Linked DNA regions of Homo sapiens: region 2 is linked to region 1. The links are contacts of gene promoters, found by promoter capture Hi-C in human tissues and cell types (Jung and others, 2019). All regions are on one chromosome and are shown on one strand. The core of a region is centred on a gene start or on the middle of the fragment in contact, and the rest is flanking DNA. Distances in the headings are between cores, read along the strand shown. Region 1 holds the start of MFSD2A (MFSD2 lysolipid transporter A, lysophospholipid). Region 2 overlaps TRIT1 (tRNA isopentenyltransferase 1).

Region 1 (4,759 bases), core at 1,355-3,854:
TGCCGTGATTCAGTTAGTGGTGACAGTGAGTGTCTCTAGTGCTGTGTTATGGGGCTCTGTCCTGACCAACAACATGGCTGGTGGAGTTGAAGTTGCAAGGGACAGCCAGATCTAAATTTAGAGTGAGAGAAAACAGTGAGCCATAGAACCAGCATCCACAACAATTTCGACAGGCTGGAATAAGCAAGATGACATTGTTCTGTTGTGAGCCTCAAGACATTACAGAAAGCAGAGGATCGGGGAGAGACCTGACTTGACCCCAACTCCGGTGAAAAGGATCTGAATGATTTAGTTGACCACAACCTGATGGGAACTAATCATGGGAGAGAAAGGCTCTGAAGCCCAGCAGTCTTAGGCTGCATTAACAATGTGTCGCATCCAGACTGGAAAAAATAATAGGCCTATTGTGCTGGCTTGGTCAGGCCATATCTGGAATCTTGCGTTGCTACACTGACAGACTGGAATCAGGCCAGGAGGGGGACCAGCCCAGCTTCAGCTCCCAGGCACTTGTGCTAAATGCTTCCTGTGCATTTTCTTGTTTCATCCCCAAAACAAATCTATTAGGTAGCTACTATTAATTTTTTTTTTTTTTTGAGACAAGAGTCTTTGTCTGTCACCCAGGCTGGAGTGCAGTGGCACGATCTCGGCTCACTGCAACCTCCGCCTCCTGGGTTCAAGCGATTCTTCTGCCTCAGCCTCCTGAGTACCTGGGACTACAGGTGTGCCCCACCACACCCGGCTTATTTTTGTATTTTTAGTTGAGACAGGGTTTCACCATATTGGCCAGGCTGGTCCGGAACTCCTGACTTCGTGATCCACCCACCTCAGCCTCCCAAAGTGCTGGGATTACAGGCGTGAGCCAGGGTGCCTGGCCAGTAGCTACTATTAATATCACCATTTTACACAGGGAGGTTAACTGAGTTGTTCAGAGTCAGCCGCACAGCTAGTAAATGGAGACACTTAGGGCTTTTCCTAATGGGTTTCTGTGTGCTTGTACCTTAGCAGGGGAAGACTGAACATTCATTCACTGAACACAATAATTCAGGCCCTAAGCTAGTTGGTGGGGACACAGAAGTGAAAAAGATGCGGTTCCTACCTGAGGAGCTCATTGTCAACCGGGGGATACAGATCACTTGTGGTATGGTGTGACTGTGGGAGAGAAGATTTGGGGGCTGCAAGGGAGCTTAGCTAACCAAGCCTGGAGAGGGGAAAAGAGACAGAACAGTGTCACACAGCTTGGAGTAATGGGGCCAGCCATTCCCTTTCCACAGTATTCAGTGCCTCACTTTGGCTCTCTTCTGCTCAGCAATGGCCAAGAGCTGTGTGCCCAGATGGGATCTGCTGGCGTATGAGGGAGCATGGTGTGACCATCCTGGGGCAGATAGACCTTATCTCTCCTCCCTGCAATCAGAGATTTAAAGAAAGGAAGAAGGAGGCTGACATTAAGGAGCACAGGAACCGGGTGGGTAGCCTTTGAGAGTTCCAGCAGCCCCTTCACTAATCAGAGAACTGGAAAGACCGGGGTGACATTGACATAAGGGACTCAGAGGTGGAACTAAAGACTGTTCTTTTCTGGCATCCGTGCCTGCCTTCTGTTCCAAACTAATGCCCTCCCATCTTCTTTTGAGGACCACATTTCTGGGCATTCTCTTTTTCAAAACTTTCCCTGTTTCAACCCTCAGTGCCTCTGGAGCCATGTATCTCCCAGGGCTTCTTGTTGGGAGACACATACACCCCATTCTGCCGTCTGTAATTTATGCTAAGAGGGATAGAGCAGGGCTGTTGAGAGCAACTGCTTTGGTATCGGACAAAACCTTTCAGGCCTGGCTCTGCTACATAACAGTTGCTTCACTTCTCCAAGTTTCCCCTTCCTGTGCTGTAAAATGGGGATAATAATAGTACCACCCTCACTTGGTGGTTTTTGAGGGCCGAAAGAGATCATATTAAGCATGGAGGAAGCTATCCATAAAAAGGCCACTGTTGTCATAGTGTACTAGCGGGCGTAGCCCCGGCTTCTCTCCACGACTTGGGAGCTCCCTTCTGGCAGGGGCAGCCACTGGATTGCCTCATCTTTCTCCCCATTGCCCGGATGCCAAGGGCAGGACGGGGGAATGGTGTGTCTTCGGGGATGAGAGAGAGGCATCAGGAGGGAAAGTGTCAGCGTACGTCCTCTAGGCTTGAAGAAGGAGAGAGGCCCTGACTCCAGATTTTAAAGTGGGCTTCAGAGCCCCTACCTTTCCTAGGCCTGGGGCTCAGAAGTCATGGGTGGTAGGCCCGACTCGGGGAGAGTCGGACCTTGGGGACCTCGGGGACCTCGGGCAGATCGGGGACCCCGGGCAGATCACTTTCAGCCTGGGGCCTCGGTTTCCTCGCGCGTGTCTGGGAGGTCTCGCGGCCTGCTTCTCGGATTGCTAGGAGCCAGCGCAGGCAGATGCCGGTTCCGGGGCTTGGAGAACGTGGCTCGGTGGCACAGAGCCGCCGGGCGAGGCGGGGGCAGGGAGGCGGGCGACGGGATTGGCTGGAGGCGGGGCAGCGGGGCTCGGGGATTGGCCGCAACCGAGAGGGCTGGGCAGAACTATAAGAGGCGCGGAGGGGGCGTGCAGCAGAGTGCGTTCCTCGTCTGCCAGCCGGCTTGGCTAGCGCGCGGCGGCCGTGGCTAAGGCTGCTACGAAGCGAGCTTGGGAGGAGCAGCGGCCTGCGGGGCAGAGGAGCATCCCGTCTACCAGGTCCCAAGCGGCGTGGCCCGCGGGTCATGGCCAAAGGAGAAGGCGCCGAGAGCGGCTCCGCGGCGGGGCTGCTACCCACCAGCATCCTCCAAAGCACTGAACGCCCGGCCCAGGTGAAGGTGAGGGCCCGGCACCCCGCGTGGAGGGCGAGGGGAGGGAGGAGGCGGAAATGGGGGATCAGGGGCGTCCCGGGGTCGGCCTGGTCAGGGGACCATTGGGATAGCCAGGGACAGGAAGCCTACGAGCCAGAGAGGACCTGGGGGTGCCCTGGGACAGGGGGTGACGGAGAAAAGCTGTGGGCGCCCTCGCCCCCCTTTGCTCACCCGCACTCCACGCTCTGCGGAGAGGCTCTGCCGGCAGCCCCATGTGATTCCCCGCTCTGCCTAGCCGGTTTCCATTCTTCCGTGTTGAGCGGCTGGGGCTTGCCGCCCCAAACCCCAGAGATGACCCCAGAAATCTGGGAAACTCCCCTTGGTTCCCCATCTCTCATCCCCTACCTCCCACTCCACCCACCTACTCTTGCGCCTCAACTCTGCTGTTAGGGCCGCTCAAGTTCATTCATAAGAACAAGAGCTCTGCTCTTAAAGGAGCCGCGTCCCTCAGGCATTTGTCTGAATGTGGATGTTCGCGCGGGAACGGTGCTTTGCGCATCGAGACCATCGACCACATCCCCAGCCCTGGGGACTTATTGAAGGACCAAATAAAATGAGGCGGCCCCCTAGGAAAGGATCTCAGGCAATAGATACCTTCGTGGGAGGTGACTGCCTTTTCCTTTTAATTTTATTAACTGATCTTTGGAAGGAGCTGGGTGAGCAATTATGCTGTTACTATGTATGAGTAATATCTACTTTCCCTGGGCAACCCAACCTCCCTAGTGCCCCACCCGGAGAGGGATCAGGCCTGAACCTGGAGGCCTTTCCTCCCGTCTCCAAGGTCCTCTAGGAGCTCAGGGGTGGAGGGCGATGGGTCGGGAAGCTGGAGAGTAGGACAGTTCCTGGGTCCGCCTGAAGCTCTGGCTGCCTATAGTGGTCAGGGATGCTCTGGGATAGGTGGAACAGCTGCGCCTGCAGCCAGCTGGGCCGGGCCCCCGTAGCTCTCTAGAGCTCTCACCAGGAGTAGGCAGGTGGATCCTGTCTCTGAGGCAGGGTGGGAGCCTGGGCTGGGCTCAGGCAGCTCTTGGCAGCAAGCGGATTTTCAGGTTGTGGCAGCTGGTGCCGGGTGGGGACAGGTCGGCTGCTGGAGCATGCTCCCCCTGAAACCTGGAAAGGAGCAGTGCCTGAGGCCTTGGGAGGAGTTCTTTAGGGATGGTGGGCTGATAAGTTTCCTTAGAATCTCCAGGAGGGAGGTGGCTTAGGGGCTACTTTCACACAAGTATGGATTCCCCTTTTCCATGTTCCTAAGAATGGAGAACACCTTTCTTTTGTATAAAGTGGGATCTCGGAGATCGAGACCATGCTGGCTAACATGGTGAAACCCCGTCTCTACTTAAAATACAAAAAATTAGCTGGGTGTGGTAGTGGGTGCCTGTAGTCCCAGCTACTTGGGAGGCTGAGGCAGGAGAATGGCGTGAACCCAGGAGGCGGAGCTTGCAGTGAGCCGAGATGGCACCACTGCACTCCAGCCTGGGCAACAGAGCAAGACTCTGTCTCAAAAAAAAAAAAAAAAAAAAAAAAAAAAAAGGTGGGATCTCCTGGATAGGAACAGGTCAAAGCAGAGTTGTTTGTTCTGGTAGAGCTGGCCAGAGGGATGGTCCTTCCTGTGGAACCTTCTTGGATGGAGGCCAGAACCTTGGGCCTTTCATCTTTTCCTCCTCTTCCCAGAAAGAACCGAAAAAGAAGAAACAACAGTTGTCTGTTTGCAACAAGCTTTGCTATGCACTTGGGGGAGCCCCCTACCAGGTGACGGGCTGTGCCCTGGGTTTCTTCCTTCAGATCTACCTATTGGATGTGGCTCAGGTGAGTGGTCTAAGCCTTCGAGGGCTCCTTCAGCATCCTGAGGTGGGAAAGACTATGCACCCCTGGGTCAGTTCGCTC
Region 2 (4,509 bases), core at 844-3,343, 79 kb before region 1:
TCCATAACATAGTGTTAAAAGAAAATAGAATAGTATCTAACCTCTGAGTCAATTTATGTAATAACATATACACACATGACACATGTGCTTAAATATATATACAAATGTCTGGAAGGATGTGAACCAAAATCATTACTCCAGGATGCTAAGACTATGGTTAAATTGTCTCTGTACTTTTCAGTATTATTGGATTTTTTTAATAAGCATGTCTCATTTTTCTTTTCTTTTTTTTTTTGAGATGGAGTTTCGCTCTTGTTGCCCAGGCTGGAGTGCAATGGCGTGATCTCGGCTCACTGCAACCTCCGCCTCCTGGGTTCAAGTGATTCTCCTGCCTTAGTCTCCTGAGTAGCTGAGATTACAGGCATGCACCACCATGCTTGACTAATTTTTTTGTATTTTTAGTGGAGATAGGGTTTCTCCATGTTGGTCAGGCTGGTCTCGAGCTCCTGACCTCAGGTGATCTGCCCGCCTCAGCCTCCCAAAGTGCTGGAATTATAGGCGTGAGCCACTGTGCCCGGCCCCCGCATGTCTCATTTTTCTGAACACAAAAATGCTTTGTTCTCATTTTTTTCATAGTGCTTCCAATTCAATAACCAAAATCCTGTTGGTTCTGTTTACAAAATATCAAAATGGTTACCTATTCTCTCCAGCCAAAGCCCAACTCCAGCCTCTCTCACCCAGACTAATGTAACAGAATCCTAAACTGTTTTTCCTTCTCTAACCCACTCTCCACCCAGTTACTTCATAAAATAGATTTACAGGCCAGGTGCAGTGGCTCACGCCTGTAATTCCAACCCTTTGGGAGCCCGAGGTGGGCAGATCACGAGGTCAGGAGTTCGAGACCAGCCTGACCAACATGGTGAAACCCTGTCTCTACCAAAAATACAAAAATTAGCCAGGCGTGGTGGCATGCGTCTGTAATCCCAGCTACTCAGGAGGCTAAGGCAGGAGACTTGCTTGAACCCGGGAGGTGGAGGTTGCAGTGAGCTGAGATTGCGCCACTGCACTCCAGCCTGGGTGACAGAGCGAGACTCTGTCTTGAAAAAAAAAAATAGACTTACTACCACTTCCCTCTTTAAAACCTCAAACCTCATGGCATGACTTTTGAGGGCCTCAAAAATTTGTTCCCAGGGTCTATATTTTTAGTTTTACCTCCTACCACTGTCCCTCAAGTACCCTCTATGCCAGATAGTTGCTGGTCATTCCTTGAAAACATACCATGCATTTTCTTAACTTTGCCCATACTGTTCTTTTGTCAGTAATATTATTCTTCCCACTTTTCTGCTTGATAAAATGTACACAGTGGTACAGAGGAAAAGAATGGGATGGAGGATGAATGAATAAATAAATAAGAGTTAGAGGAAAAAGTATAAAACAGCATGGAGATGAGGATTTAATAAAGTAATTTTTGGTAGGGAGGAGACAATAACAGCACCCACGGCAAAAGGCTACGGTAAGGATATTAGATAATATTTGTCAAACTTTTAGAACTGCCTGACATATATATTATTCTTGCTATTATCTTCAGTAGTATAATTATTATGATCATTCCTGTAATGAGGGCTTGAACTCTGACTGCCACAATGAGGGAGGTACAGGGAGGCTGCTACTCACAAGCAGAGCCCCAAAGGGATCAAGAGGCCAACAGGGTCCTGGTCTGATTCAAGTTTCTGAGGAATCCAAAACTACACAGAAAAACAAAACCAATTCCATTAAATCATAATGGAGCACATATGTGAATTCCTATATACCCCAAGTAACTTTTACTCCTCAAATATATCTTTTTGAAGTGGAGCTGCTTCAACACCCTGCCTCAGGCACTGAAACATCAGGGTAGCACTCATCCTCATGAATCTGAATCTGCAAGCCTCATCTGTGCTCTCCTATGGTTTCCTGTTTGGCCAGTAGTCACTTCTCCTTCCTTATATAACACAGATTTGACTCCAAAGTTCTCCCTGTAGGTGCAAAAACATGACCACATATGTACAACATACACAGCTTAATACTGCAGCCAAAAGAAAACTAAATTCACTTACAATGGAGGTGAACCAAGGGACCTAGAAACTCATTATTTATATGTGTATCTATCTATCTATCTATCTATCTATCTATATATATATATGAATGATGAGTCGAAAATTTTGAGATTTCCTTTTTAGCCTCTTGTAAGTCTCAGTCCTTCTAAAAGACTGCCTTTGGCTGGGTGCAGTGGCTCACGCTTGTAATCACAGCACTTTGAGAGGCCGAGGCTGGCGGATCACCTGAGGTCAGGAGATTGAGACCATCCTGGCTAACACGGTGAAACCCTGTCTCTACTAAAAATACAAAAAATTAGCCAGGCGTGGTGGCGGGCGCCTGTAGTCCCAGCTACTCAGGAGGCTGAGGCAGGAGAATGGCTAGAACTTGGGAGGCTTAGGTTGCAGTGGGCCGAGATGGAGTCACTGCACTCCAGCCTGGGTGACACAGCAAGACTCCATCTCAAAAAAAAAAAACAAAAAAAAAAGGACTGCCTTTGTCAGTTGTGGCAAATACCTTCCAGATAGACCCCTTTTCTCCTGGTTAATGGGTCTTCAAAAAAAAAAAAAAAAAAAAAAAAACAGGTCTTCAAGCCTTTTATTTCACATTTTATTAAGCCACTGTGATCCACCATCCCATCTCTCCTTTCATATCCCTCCCCCAAGCATCCCATATCTCCCTTGATCAGACAGTCTTTTGGTACAAACACTGCTCCTACAGTATGTCCCAAAGCAAACAAAAAGAATACAGAGGCCAGGTGGGGTAGCTCATGCCTGTAATCCTAGCACTTTGGGAGGCCAATGCAGGAGGATCACTTGGGGCCAAGAGTGTTCAAGATCAGCCTGGGCAACATGGTGCTTCTATTAAAAAAAAAAAAAAAAAAAAAAGAACAAAGAGCTCCACATCTATTGGATGACGAGATGACACATATTCTGCTTGCTTACTAGTCAGACTGCCAAAAATCATTTGTTTCTCCTCTTGTAGGTTTAAACAAACACAAAAGGAACTGTGCTCCTATGTACGGCTACTGCTTCTCCACAGGACTTGAAAAACTGAGGCATTAGAGACACTTCCTCTCTATAAACCCGAACAGAACACTTTGTTTCTTTTCTCTTAGCATATAGTTGGTAGTTTGTATTTCCAGGCCATCATTGTACATGTTTGGCAAGGGCCTTCAATTTTCTCAGTACAATGTTTCATCCAGTCACTGAAGGCCCGGCACTGTACCTTGAATTTACAAGCCAAGAAAAAGACTCAGACTGAAAAGAAGACCTTCGGTATCATCTTCCTGAAATACATCAGACTCTACAAATGAGTTAGAAGACCCAGATCCAATTCCCAGTGTCTTGCAGTGTGATCTCTAGACAGCTCTTTAATCTTCTGTAGCTCCAGTTTTTCCATCCTGGAAAACAGGGATTGTATTACCTGTCCCTCCTTGAATTCAGACTCTTACTACTGAATGAGAATATTTTTATTTCTATAATTTGTGAAACAACCAGCATTCAGAAGACTCAGAAAATAAAGCACAAATGTTGTTTCTCACTTCTGTCAGAATGGCCATGTAGAAATCCTCAGCAAAACCCAAGAGAAATCCCAAAGAAGGTAATCCCCTCAGAAAGTAGTTCTGACTTCCCAATCCACAACTACCTTGCATAAGAATCATGGAAGGGCATGTGTTTTCAGGACCTCCTGGGGCTGTGTCATAGAAAAAAAAAGAAAAAGAAAAAAGAACACTGGGAAGAAAGAGGACAGGCAGTACCTTCAGATGCTAGATGGCTACAGAAGCAAGTCACTGCATATCAGGCTACATGAAGAAATGATCACCATAGACACAATACCTTTAACAACCCCATTGTAGTTTTACCTCAAAGCTTAAAGTACTTATTCAATGTTTACAAAAACAAATACTTTCTCTGGATAGGAACTGCCCTGTAGGTGCTGTAGGGTTGACCTTGGGTAGGTGTTGCCTTGGATGACCCTACATTTTAAAGCAGGACAAAGGGATGACAAAAGCAGTATGAAGTACGAGACAATTTAACATTTAAGATAGTGTTGTACAATAGTTTCTGAGTTACTGGTACACTTCTGAATAGAAAATTTTCAGCAGCACACCAAAAGGAATTATTAAAATGCAAATATTGGTTTTAAAAAACCCAATTTAGAAACTTGAAAAAACTTTCTATGATCACACTTTCTATTTGGTCACCCTTTGGTGTGTTACAACAAAGAAGTTTACTGTTCTGTCTAGGCTCTCCACAAGTCCAAGTTTACCCTTTGTTCCAATAAACACTATCTGTCTTTGATACGAACTTGACATTAGATTCTATTAATATCTCTTAGCTGCAGCAAATTTTATCCCCAAAGTACATCAGGTGGCTTCCAGTCAGCTCAACACTCCACTTGACAGATATCACTATGAATTAACACTGTGATTTACAATATGAATCCTAAAATACATCTTTTTCCTGATCAAAATGTTGCACACTCCTAAGA

The links. The method cuts DNA at HindIII sites, captures the fragments that hold promoters and counts their contacts. A contact is called where the count stands out against the background at its distance.
Region 2: a contact is called between a fragment that was not itself captured here and the fragment with the promoter of MFSD2A in region 1, in 5 of the 25 tissues and cell types used here (H1 embryonic stem cells, IMR-90 fibroblasts, hippocampus and 2 more).

The regions. Positions count from the first base shown.
Region 1 is chr1:39,952,541-39,957,299 of GRCh38, forward strand. MFSD2A (MFSD2 lysolipid transporter A, lysophospholipid) reads left to right here and starts at 2,605. Exons shown (of 14, transcript NM_032793.5): 1 at 2,605-2,845; 2 at 4,547-4,681. The coding sequence starts at 2,753. RefSeq lists a silencer at 2,427-2,556. The HindIII fragment of the contact is 9,041 bases long and covers 1-4,759 here.
Region 2 is chr1:39,874,448-39,878,956 of GRCh38, forward strand. The region is part of intron 1 of TRIT1 (tRNA isopentenyltransferase 1); the gene reads right to left. Among named protein-coding and RNA genes, the nearest start is that of MYCL-AS1, 6.4 kb to the right of the region's middle. The HindIII fragment of the contact is 6,954 bases long and covers 1-4,509 here.